Regions from separate parts of the Homo sapiens genome. Here region 1 is linked to region 2. Evidence: promoter capture Hi-C in 16 types of primary human blood cells and fetal thymus (Javierre and others, 2016). All regions are on one chromosome and are shown on one strand. The core of a region is centred on a gene start or on the middle of the fragment in contact, and the rest is flanking DNA. Distances in the headings are between cores, read along the strand shown.

The links. The method cuts DNA at HindIII sites, captures the fragments that hold promoters and counts their contacts. A CHiCAGO score of 5 or more calls a contact.
Region 1: the fragment with the promoter of ACTR2 here is called in contact with the fragment with the promoter of UGP2 in region 2 in 1 of 17 cell types (activated CD4 T cells); the score reaches 5.6 in activated CD4 T cells.

What each region holds. Positions count from the first base shown.
Region 1 is chr2:65,224,494-65,230,000 of GRCh38, reverse strand. It overlaps ACTR2 (actin related protein 2), which reads right to left and starts at 2,170. Exons shown (of 9, transcript NM_005722.4): 1 at 2,044-2,170. The coding sequence starts at 2,091. It overlaps LOC124907779 (a long non-coding RNA gene), which reads left to right and starts at 2,402. Exons shown (of 2, transcript XR_007086461.1): 1 at 2,402-2,520. RefSeq lists enhancers at 1,239-1,328, 1,401-2,289, 2,290-3,179 and a silencer at 1,829-2,018. The HindIII fragment of the contact is 6,982 bases long and covers 1-4,646 here.
Region 2 is chr2:63,838,803-63,844,260 of GRCh38, reverse strand. UGP2 (UDP-glucose pyrophosphorylase 2) reads right to left here and starts at 2,365. Exons shown (of 10, transcript NM_006759.4): 1 at 2,057-2,365. The coding sequence starts at 2,075. It also overlaps a transcript of WDPCP not described here. RefSeq lists enhancers at 2,259-2,308, 3,179-3,358 and a silencer at 2,409-2,718. The HindIII fragment of the contact is 3,639 bases long and covers 1,636-5,274 here.

The DNA of each region.
Region 1 (5,507 bases), core at 921-3,420, 1.4 Mb before region 2:
CTCTGTCTCATAGGTAACCATTATGAACATTTCTTATGTATCCCTCCAAAACTTTCATATGCGGATACAAGTTTGTGGACATACATCTTTAATAAGGAACACACACTTAAACTGAATCATTCTAAAACCTTTTTCAACTTAAAATCTTAGACGTTTCCATAGCAGTGGATCTGCCTTTTTAAAAATATTACATTCTTAAAAACCGTCACATTAATATGTTTTGTTTTTCTTTTTTTTTTTTTTTTTTTTTGAGACGGAGTCTTGCTCTGTCGCCCAGGCTGGAGTGGTGCGATCTCGGCTCACTGCAACCTCCGCCTACCGGGTTCAAGCGATTCTCCTGCCTCAGCCTACCGAGTAGCTGGGATTACAGACGCCCACCACCATGCCCGGCTAATTTTTGTATTTTTAGTAGAGACGGGGTTTCACTATGTTGGCCAGCCTGGTCTCAAACTCCTGACTTCAGGTGATCCGCCCGCCTAGACCTCCCAAAGTGCTGGGATTACAGGCATGAGCCACCGCGCCTGGCCTCAATGTACGTTAACACTCTTTTTACTCTAGTCCATTTTTAACACAGTTCAGATGAAGCTACCATAATTATTGCTTGTAAAATTGTGTAACAAATCTAATCAAGGGCAGTATTATGGCAGTAAATACCAGCTCTTTTCCCCCTCAACAATTCAGATTCCAAAGTGTTTTGTTCAAGTAAAATGAACTTTAATTCATACATCATATTTATGGGAGGGAGGGGAGAAAACTCACAAAATGTTGCAACATCAAAATGGTTAGAAATCACTATAGAAGTCATCCAGAATAAATAATATTTCCATCTTCTAATTTGCTGACTTTGCTACCCAAAATACATTTTTTTTTAATCTGGCAAGAGGGAGGTCTGAATGAAACAATTTTTTTTTTTTATAATTGAGACGGAGTTTCACTCTTGTCGCCCAGGCTGGAGTGCAGTGGCGCAATCTCGGCTCACTGCAACCTCCGCTTCCTGGCTTCAAGGGATTCTCCTGCCTCAGCCTCCCAAGTAGCTGGGATTACAGGCAAGCACCACCACGGCCGGCTAATTTTTGTATTTTTAGTAGAGACCGGGGTTTCACCACGTTGGCTGGGCTGGTCTCGAACTCCTAACCTCTGGTGATCTGCCCGCCTGGGCCTCCCAAAGTGCTGGGATTACAGAAACAATTTTCAAATAGTTTCTAAATCAGTGCTTTAGTCAGATTTTACAATTTTTGAATCTTAAAGGCTAACATTACCTGTATACTGAAACGAAGGGAAAAAAGGGGGCTGGGGGTGGGATAATCAACACTAATTAACTTCCCCTAAGGCTAGTGGAATTAACACTTGAGTCTTGCGGGATCCTAGGTCACCCAAAACCACTCAATGGAACATGCTGGTCTCCGTGGGCCTACTCCTGGGCCAAATACTAGTATGTAAAACAAAAAGTGAACGATGCGCTGCCGATCTGGACCCCTTCCCTCGAAAAAACTAATAAAAAGCCCAACAAACACAGCGAAAGGGCTGAGGTCCACACTCCATGACAGCACTTCCCTTTTTTTTTTTTTTTTTTTAAGTAAACCCGCTTCCTGCTTCTCGTTTGGTGTATCTTCAACTATACAGGAAGAGGAAGGCCTCTAGGTCTTTCTCCTTTTTACAAACCGGTGGCCCTGGGGAAAAGAGCCCTTCTCGGAACACACAAACCGAGCCTTTTACGCTTCCGTCCGCTTTAGCCCAATTGCCCCCGCATTAGCGCGGAGCAGGTCCCTGCCGGGCGGTCAGTAGGCTCCATGTCCAGTGCCGGTCTCGCCCGCCGCCCCCACCCGGAAGGGTGAGGGGGTGGCAGGCTAAATGGGTGGCAGGCTCAAGGGAGACCAGGGAACGGCCGGCTCGCTCCCACGCCCGCGGAGGTGGGAGGCACCGCCCCGCGCCCCTTCGCCCCGAGGGCCCGGAGGTGCAGCCCTGGGGGCCGAGGGCCCGTGCGCCAGCTGCTCGTCCCCGCCGGCGTCTGTGGCCGCCAAGGCCTCCTCGCGCGGCCCTTACCCCGGTGCCGTTGTCGCACACCACCACCTTCCTGCCCTGGCTGTCCATCGTCCGCCCAGGGAAGAGCCGCTGCAGCCGCACAACCTACAGCCACCGCCGCCCGGCCGTTTTCTCTTCTTCCTCTTGCGTCTTCCCGGCCCCTCCTTCGGCCCAACTTTTTTCCCCCGACCGGAAGCCGCCGCCGGGCTCCGCCCGTCATTTAGCTGAATGCCTGCACGAAAAGGGTGGGACGGGCAGGCAGCGCGACTGGCAGCGGTGAGCTCCAATAAAAGATGGAGGAGCGTCGAGGCCCCTCCCGCAGCTCCGCTTCCGGCTCGGCTGTCACGGTCGCTGCCCACCCGGGTTCTTCGCTGCTTCTAGTTCCGGGCGCTTTGCCGGGCGTTAATGGCGGCCAACATCGCCGGTGCTGCGGCTTTCTCCCTAAAGTGTCACAGGAGCTAAGGGCGCTGCTTAACGAACTGCAGAAGACGCAGGCAGGTGAAGGACACCGGTTCTGCTGCGGCAGTGGAATGTGGCGGAGAAGCTGGCGGGTAGGGCGGGGAGCAAGCCTGGAGGTCCTGGCGGACCCCACCATTCGACAGGGCTTGGTGTGTTATTGCTTCTAGGCCTTTTCAGCGGACAGAACTGGGATGGATACACACATGCTTATTTGAAATCATGCGTTTGTTCCATACTCCAATGTCAGCCCACCCCTTCTTTGCCCAAGTTGCTCTATGGTCAAGTGAGCGAGAGCAGGTGCCTGCATTTCCAGCCTCGTGGCTCACCGCCTCCTTCCAGTAGTCCCATGTTGCTTCACACCTCTTAAGTACATGTACTTCTGTGAACCCAGAGCCTTGGCTTTGAAATCAGACAACCCCAGTTTCAAACGTGGCGCTGCCACTCACGAGTTTTGTGATTTTGGCATACCCCTGTCTGCATGGGGATAATAACTTCTATCTCCATAGGTGTGGTGAGGATAAAAGTCTATGCATGGAGGAAATGTTCATTCAGTGGTAGCTATTTCTAATTCTGTTCTTCTGGACCTATGATTCTATCTACGATGCCTCATTTTTTTTCCTTTTTAATCAATTGGCAAACTTGTGCTCTGAGACCCAGCTTGTTACATCTCTGATGACAGCTGATATCCTCAGGATATTCCGTACTTCCTTTCTCCCTATTACTTTACTATGAATATATGAATAACATTGTGCTTATTGCATGCAACAAATATTTATTAGATGAATGACATTAAAATTCACCTTTAAAATGCCATCCTTTATGAGAGGTGAGAAATAGAACTTTTCCTTCGACATGGCTGTACATGTTCAACAACTAGAATAAAACAGTCATCATGAACCCTCAATCCAGTATTCTTTTTATAATATAGCTGCCTGTCAGTTTTCACTGTTCTTTTATTAGACCAGTGATTTTCAAACCTTTTTAAAGGCATACAGTGCTTTATTCAAATCTAATCTTATATGGAACCCTCAACACATAAATATTAAGATAAAAATAAAGCTGCCATTGTTGCAATTAGAAGTTTGAGAGGTTAGAATAGGTAGGAAGTCTCGGAGGAACATTTCTTCGTTTTACCTGCTTTAACAGTCAGAGAAGTACCTCAGCCAGCAGAAAAATTTATTTGTTCATAAATTCCTTGAGTATAGAGTCCGTATCTTATTTTTGTGGCCTCCAATGCTAGTGCTGTGCAGTTTTCTTGAAAGTGCATTTTATTGGTCTCAGCAAATTGAACTCAAGCATTTCTGTGTTCTTTTACTTTTCCTCTTTGTGGAATTAAGGGGATTGCTAATTTGTATTTTTAAAGAAAGAACATTATTCCGGGCGCGGTGGCTCACGCCTGTAATCCCAGCACTTGGGGAGGCCAAGGAGGGCAAATCACCTGAGATCAGGAGTTCAAGACAAGGCTGACCAACATGGCAAAACCCCGTCTCTACTAAAAATACAAAAATTAGCTGGGCGTGTTGGCACGCGCCTGTAATCCCAGCCACTCAGGAAGCTGAGGCAGGAGAATCGCTTGAACCCGGGAAGCAGAGGTTGCAGTGACAGAGATCGTGCCACTGCACTCCAGCCTGGTGAGAGCAAGACTCTGTCTCAAAAAAAAAAAAAAAAAATTGGCAAGTTTGGCCCTAAAATTTATATGAAATGAAAAGGAACCAGAATAAAAGGATTTCGAAACAGAAAAAGATGGAGAACTTCCACTACCTGAATTCAAAACTTATTATAAAGCTACAGTAATGAAGACTGTAATACTGGCATAGAGGCAGATATATCGATCAATGGAATCAAATAGTCCACAAATAAACCTTTACATTATGGTCAGTTGATTTTCAACAATGGTGCTAAAACAATCCATGGGGAAAGGGTAATCTTTTCAATGAATGATGTGGGAGGGAAAAAAAAGAACTTTGATTCTTACCTCACATCACACATAAAAATTGATTTAAGTGGATCATAGACCTAAATATAAAAGCTAAAACTATAAATTTCAGAAGAAAAAGAGGAAAATCTTTTGATATTAAGTTAAGCAAAGTTTGCTTAGATATGACGCTAAAATCGTGATCTATAAAAGAAAAAATTGATAGTTGACATAATAGAAATTTAAAGCTTTTAGTTCATGTATTGAAACAAAAAATCTAGACTGGGACAATGGCTCACATCTGTAATCCCAGCACTTTGGGAGACCAAGGTGGGTGGATCGCTTGAGCTCAGGAGTTCAAGACCAGCCTAGGCCAGATGGTGAAACCCCATCTCTACAAAAAATACAAAAATTAGCTGTGCATATAGTCCCAGCTACTTGGGAGGCAGAGGTGGGAAGATGGTTTGAGCCCAGGAGGCAGAATTTGCAGTGAGCTGAGATTGCGCTACTACGCTACAGCCTGGGTGACAGCCAGACCCTATCTAAAAAAAAAAAAAAAAAAAAAAGAAGAAGAAAACAAAAACAAAAAATCTTGGTCTGTCTTAGGCAACAAGCAATTAAAAAAAAAGTAGAAAATAAAGCAAAAGGGCCGGGCGCAGTGGCTCACGCCTGTAATTCCAGCACTTTGGGAGACTGAGGCGAGTGGATCACCTGAGGTCAGGAGTTTGAGACCAGCCTCGCCAACATGGTGAAACCCCATCTCTACTAAATACAAAAATTAGCTGGGCGTGGTGGCGGGCACCTGCAATCCCAGCTACTTGGGAGGCTGAGGCAGGAGAATTGCTTAAATCCAGGAGGCAAAGGTTGCAGTGAGCCAAAATCATGCCACTGCACTCCAGCCTGGGCAACAGAGCATAACTCCATCTCAAAAAAAAAAAAAAAAAAGAAAAAGAAAAAGAAAAGCCATGAACTAGAAGAAAATATTTGAATAGATATTTTACCAAAGAAGATTTATGAATGGCAAATAAGTACATAAAAAGATATTCATCATCATTAATCATTAGAGAAATGCACATTGAAAGCATAATAAGATAACACTTAATACCCACTA
Region 2 (5,458 bases), core at 1,116-3,615:
ACAGCTGTGTCATTTGCCAATTAGGTTTATCATTTACAACAGCAGCAGAGTTAAACATATAGAGGGCTCACACTGTACAAAATTTAAACAATGATAAACAGGAGCACATTCATGTCAAAAAATTTTGAGGAGGTGTCATATTCTTGTGCAAAACTGCCCATCTTAAAAGGAAAACTACCATTTAAAGTAAAAATGTATGACAACTATAGGCTATGGCATATGCCTAAGTCCCATCTACTCAGGAGGCTAACGCAGGAGGACAGCTTGAGCCCAGGGGCTTGAGGCTGTAGTGCACTATGATTGTTCCTGTGAATACCCACTGTACTCCAGCGTGGACAACACAGTAAGACCTTGACAAAAAAAGAAGAAAGAAAAAGAAAAAAGAAAAAAAGTGGCTGGCAACTAAGTGCAATCTGGTATCTTAGAGTGAATCATGGGAACTGTAATCTGAACAAAGCCTTTAGTTAACAGTAATGTACCTATGTTAATTTCTTAGTTTTGACAAATGTGCAACTTTTCTATAAATCCTGAAGTATTCCAAAATATAAAAAGTTTTTTTAAAAAAAGTGGATGACAAAGTAATGACAAACATACACAGCAACTCTTACCACTTGATTTTGAATCTTCTGAGGACAAGTTGGCATTACAGCAAAGGCTGTGAAATCAGTCAATGCTTGCCAATTCTGCAACCTATTCTAAAGCATAACTCTACATGGAACACCTTGGGTTTATTAATATTTCTAACTTTTAAAGAGAAGTAACTTGTCCACTTTTACCTAGCATATTCTTGCAAAATACCGCCTTTATGGTAACTGAATATTGTTATTACAAAACCAGTACGTTTCTAACAGTTCTGCCTTTCTATTCTTGAATAAGACATTTACTCAATCAGAACATAAGCATCTCTTACCACATATAAGGTATAACATGAATTTGAAAGTCTAATAACAAGTGACATTTCTGAGCTTAGCGCTAAAGGCAAGCATAGCGTTCGATCTGTTTCGATAATAACACAGGCAGTCGAATTCTCTTACTTTAATCTACTACACAAAATTTAAAGAAGAGTTAATAAAGCGATGTAGAACTCAGTAGGGCATTTTTATTCCCAGGGTCAAATGATGGCCATTACTGACACAACTTTTTTTTTCCAAAAGTACACCTACATTTATCAGGAAGCATAATAAGTGTTTGTGAACTTTACTAGCTGTGTGTTCATCAAGATGGCTGAAGCTTTCACACACTGGAGTCTACAAGGAAAGAGTTTACTTGCATACCAGAAGGCAAATCTCATGCTACAAACTGGTGTCAAAGGTTTATGCCAGCACCAATTTCAGTGAGTACACCGTACACACATGCATTCATATACACGTTACTGATAATCTCAGTTGAGGCATTCCCTAACCCTTTTTAAATACACATGTGGAATTTAGAGAGCAGTTTTCAAACTTCAAAGGAACCTTAATCATCTTTTCATAGTTCAAAAAAGGAAAAAATAAACACAGCAATGCAGCAAAGTCATTTCTCCAGCTGAAATGACCTCCAGCTTCTTCGGGCTACTCCCAGTTTCGCAATAAGTGAATCTGAGACGCAAACCACGTACACACAAACGAAGTAGAAGCGGAGAACACTAAAGCTTCCCCAACAGTCCCGGCAAAACCCACCCGGCTTTTCTCAGTCCTCCCGCTTCCCCAGCCCTTCCCGTCTGCGTGCACGCACAGGTACCTTGACACAGACCAGGAAAAGAGAACAAGGATTAATTAGCAGCCAAAAATCCTGTTTTATCACTTACAGCCACTATCCAGGAAAGCGACGGTACTACTAACCTGATTTCAGGGAGGCAAAACTAAACCCAGCAGGGTACAGGAGCATAAATTATACGCGTCTGGAACGTCAACCCAGCAGCTCAAGGCAGCTCAGATGACAATTCAACGAAAAGGGTTTCGCAAATGTTATCTCAAATGAACATTTCCACTTCCAAACCACCCACCAACCTCTCCACTGTCAGTACCCAAATTTGCCTGAAGCAACTCGGGATATAAGCAGCAGCATTTCTTACCTTGTACAAATCTCGACATTTTAGGGGCTTAGTAAAATACTCCGGCTTTTTTTTTTTTTTTCTAGAGGAGTCACGCTACAGGGCAGGTCTCTCTTCCTCTCCTGCTTTAACAACCGATGTATTCTTTCTCCTCCTATATTTAACTACTTAAGGGAGTATTTATTCAAAGCGATTAAAACTGGCTCAAGAAAAAAGAAAAGAAAGAAAGAAACTCCTTCCCCAATTCCAAAAGACGGAAACTTGGTGCGACTGAGTCGGTTTGGGAACTCCTGAGCTCCGGACACAAATGAGGGCCAGCTGGAGACTCCCGGAAAAGGTAAAACCACACGAACTTAAATTTCTTCAATGAAAGAGGCGGACCTACAGCGGCTATTTCACCGCCCCCAAGTCCCCACGCCCTCCAGGGCTGTACTGCAGGAGGCACTGGCAGGCCGCGCCCCTAGCTGCCCCCTCCCCGCGCCGCCGTCCAGGCCCCAAACGCCTCCCCCGAAAACCCCGGTTAACAGCGGCTCCCGCCCAAGCAGGGGTCGGGGAGGCGGGCGAGGCCGGCCAGCGGGGGCAGTGCAACCATTTTCACCAGCCATAAACATCCTGGGACTAGGAGGCGCTACCAATTCCACGCTCTGGCTGGCCGACCGGTCGGGGCCTCAGCTCCCCGCCTTCCCGCCTCGAGCAGTGAAACCCGGCCGCAGCTTTTTCTCGGTAGGGGCCGAAGGCTACGCTGCCCCTCCCCCGCAGCGGACACTAAGGGGTCACCGGCTAGAGGCAGACCCGTGCACCGGCGCGGGAGTCCCAAGGGAGGGCACCGACCCTTCCCGTACATATTCTCGCCCCGCCTGCCCTGCGCTCCTCAGAAGCCCAAATTCCGCCTCCGAGACCACACAGCGGGCCAGCGAGAGCGGGAAACACACTCATCCAGGGGGTCGCCGGAAGCCCAACCCCGCCCCTCCTCAAGCCGCCAGCGAGACCCACCTTCCTCTTCCTTTAGCAGCTGGGAAATTGGGGGCGTTTATGGCGCCCCGGGAAGAAGGCTCGCAGGCTGAAAGTCACCTCTGAGGCGCCCTTCTCTCTCTCTCTCTTCCCTCACACATGCACACCTTGAGCCCCTCCCTAACGGTCGCAGCCCAGCTGCTAACCCCCCCTTGTCCACCCGTCAGCCGGCTCCCGACACCCACAGCCCCTACTTTCTCCTAAACACCTCCCCTCCCCCTCCATTCGGAGCAGCCCCTTCAATGCGGAAATGTCCCTGCCGCACGGACCGACAGGCGCAGCCGCCAGTCAGGAGCCGAGGCGGACGCAGGCTCTGGCCAATGAGACGTGTGGAGGTGGCAAGGGGCGGGGCGTTGCGGCACTTGAGAGCCCGTCGGAGTTGGGCACTGAGCAGTACGCGGGGATACCGCGCGTGGGAGCAGCACTTACGGCGGCGTTGCGGCCAGGGAAGCCTCGCCAGTATATCTCAGTGAGGGAGAGCACCTGAGCACGACTGGTTATTTTTCCAATCAGTAAAAATATTCCCGCTGACTAGGGACTAAAGAAAGCCCTGCGGATAGAGCCGGAGCTCCCCACCGCAGCTGCCCCGAGGGAGCCCAGACGCTTCTCAGGGGACGCTTGCTCCCCTCATCACATCTGGTTGGGGGAGGGTGAGGATGCGTTAGGGAGTAGGCATTGGCCTGTGTGGGCCAGCTAACAAAAGGAGGGTTTAGGCATTGAAGAAAGTGACAAGTGAAGGCTCCCTCACCGGAACCACCACCATCCCCATTGCCCCGGTTCCTAATCCTGTAGAGCTGCTGTGATAGGCGTTTACTTTTCTCTTCAACGTGGAACTGGCCTAAGTTACTCCTCAAGAGATGCTTTTCTTTTGGTAGATTCTTGAAGTCCTCAAGGAAAGAGGATGTTACACGGAACTTGACACTAGCCTGGGGACTGTTACAGGGCCAGCCCACGGCTTGTCAAATCACACCTGGTACCGTCAACCCCACCTGCATCTAAGACTCAGTGTGCCTGGCAGCGAGTGCATTTCAGACTTTGCATTTCCACTTTAAGACTCAAATAGCCCGCACCAGGGCAGATGATTTGCCAGCGCCTTCTCTTAAGTGCCTTCAATAAACAAGTACGGTAATTACAGAAGAGTTTGAGGCTTTGGGCAGCACTAATCAACCAAGGTAAAGTGAGAATTTTTTAATGACTCATTGTCTAAACAAAGGAACTTTGATTTTTTGGTTCTACGTCTTTATATGGAAATGTTATTAGAACAAACAACACAGAAAAGGCTAGTGAAAAATTGTTATACTAGAGAATGACAACCATTGGTACTGTGTTTCTTACATGAAATCCAAAAAGATTACACTCAAAAACCTCTCGGCCGTAAAACGAATTTTCCCCAGACAAAACAAGTGTCTAAAATCCAGATGTCTACAGTTTAATAACAGCATTTGGAGACTGAAGATCTTAACAAAATCTCTACATCCTTTGTATACAGTACAAAAATTGTTCCAGCACTGAAAAAGCAGTCTTTACCAATGAGCATTAGTACCAAAATAAAATACTACCGAAAGATTTGGGCCACGTAGGGTTACTTAGCCTGCAAAAGATGAAGGACAATGAAGAGATTTATTTGTTGTTGTTGTTTTGTTTTTGTTTTTGTTTTGAGACGGAGTCTTGCTCTGTCGCCCAGGCTGGAGTGCAATGGCACAGTCTAGGCTCACTGCAACCTCCGCCTCCCGGGTTCAAGCGATTCTCCTGCCTTAGCCTCTCGAGTAGCTGGGGCCGCAGGCTCGTGCCACCGCACCTGGCTAATGTTTGTATTTTTAGTAGAGGCGGGGTTTCGCCATGTTGGCCAGGCTGGTCTCAAACCCCTGACCTTGTGATCCGCCTGCCTCAGCCTCCCAAAGTGCTGGGATTACAGGCGTGAGCCACCGCGCCTGGCGAGTTTTTAATTATACAAGGTTTATTATAAGAAACGATGATCAGTTACTGTATTTTCTGCCTTCATGGAAGATTAAAAAGGAAATGGGTTTTAATTGCAGCAAGAGCATTTGTTAATATCTAAGAATGGCATCTTGATTTATGAGTGATTGAATATTGAGATATAGTACCAAAGGTTGTTGTACACTTGCTGCCTCAAGAACTCTCCAAAAAGTAACTAACTACCCATCTTCAGGGGCTACATCTGTAACTACTCAGTCACTAGTTCTTAGAGAAGTAGCACTCTAGAAGCTTAGTTTCCAAATATTTCCAAACAGTACTTATAAAATGAAATTTCTTTATACATCGGTATAAATTTAAATTTTGAACCCACAAACACTTTGTAAGCGAGCTTCCCACTCTCTCAGAGCCACTAAGAACAACCTCACTTGACAAATCCTGTGGAGATAGGAAAGAAAGAGGTGGAGTTCTTAATGG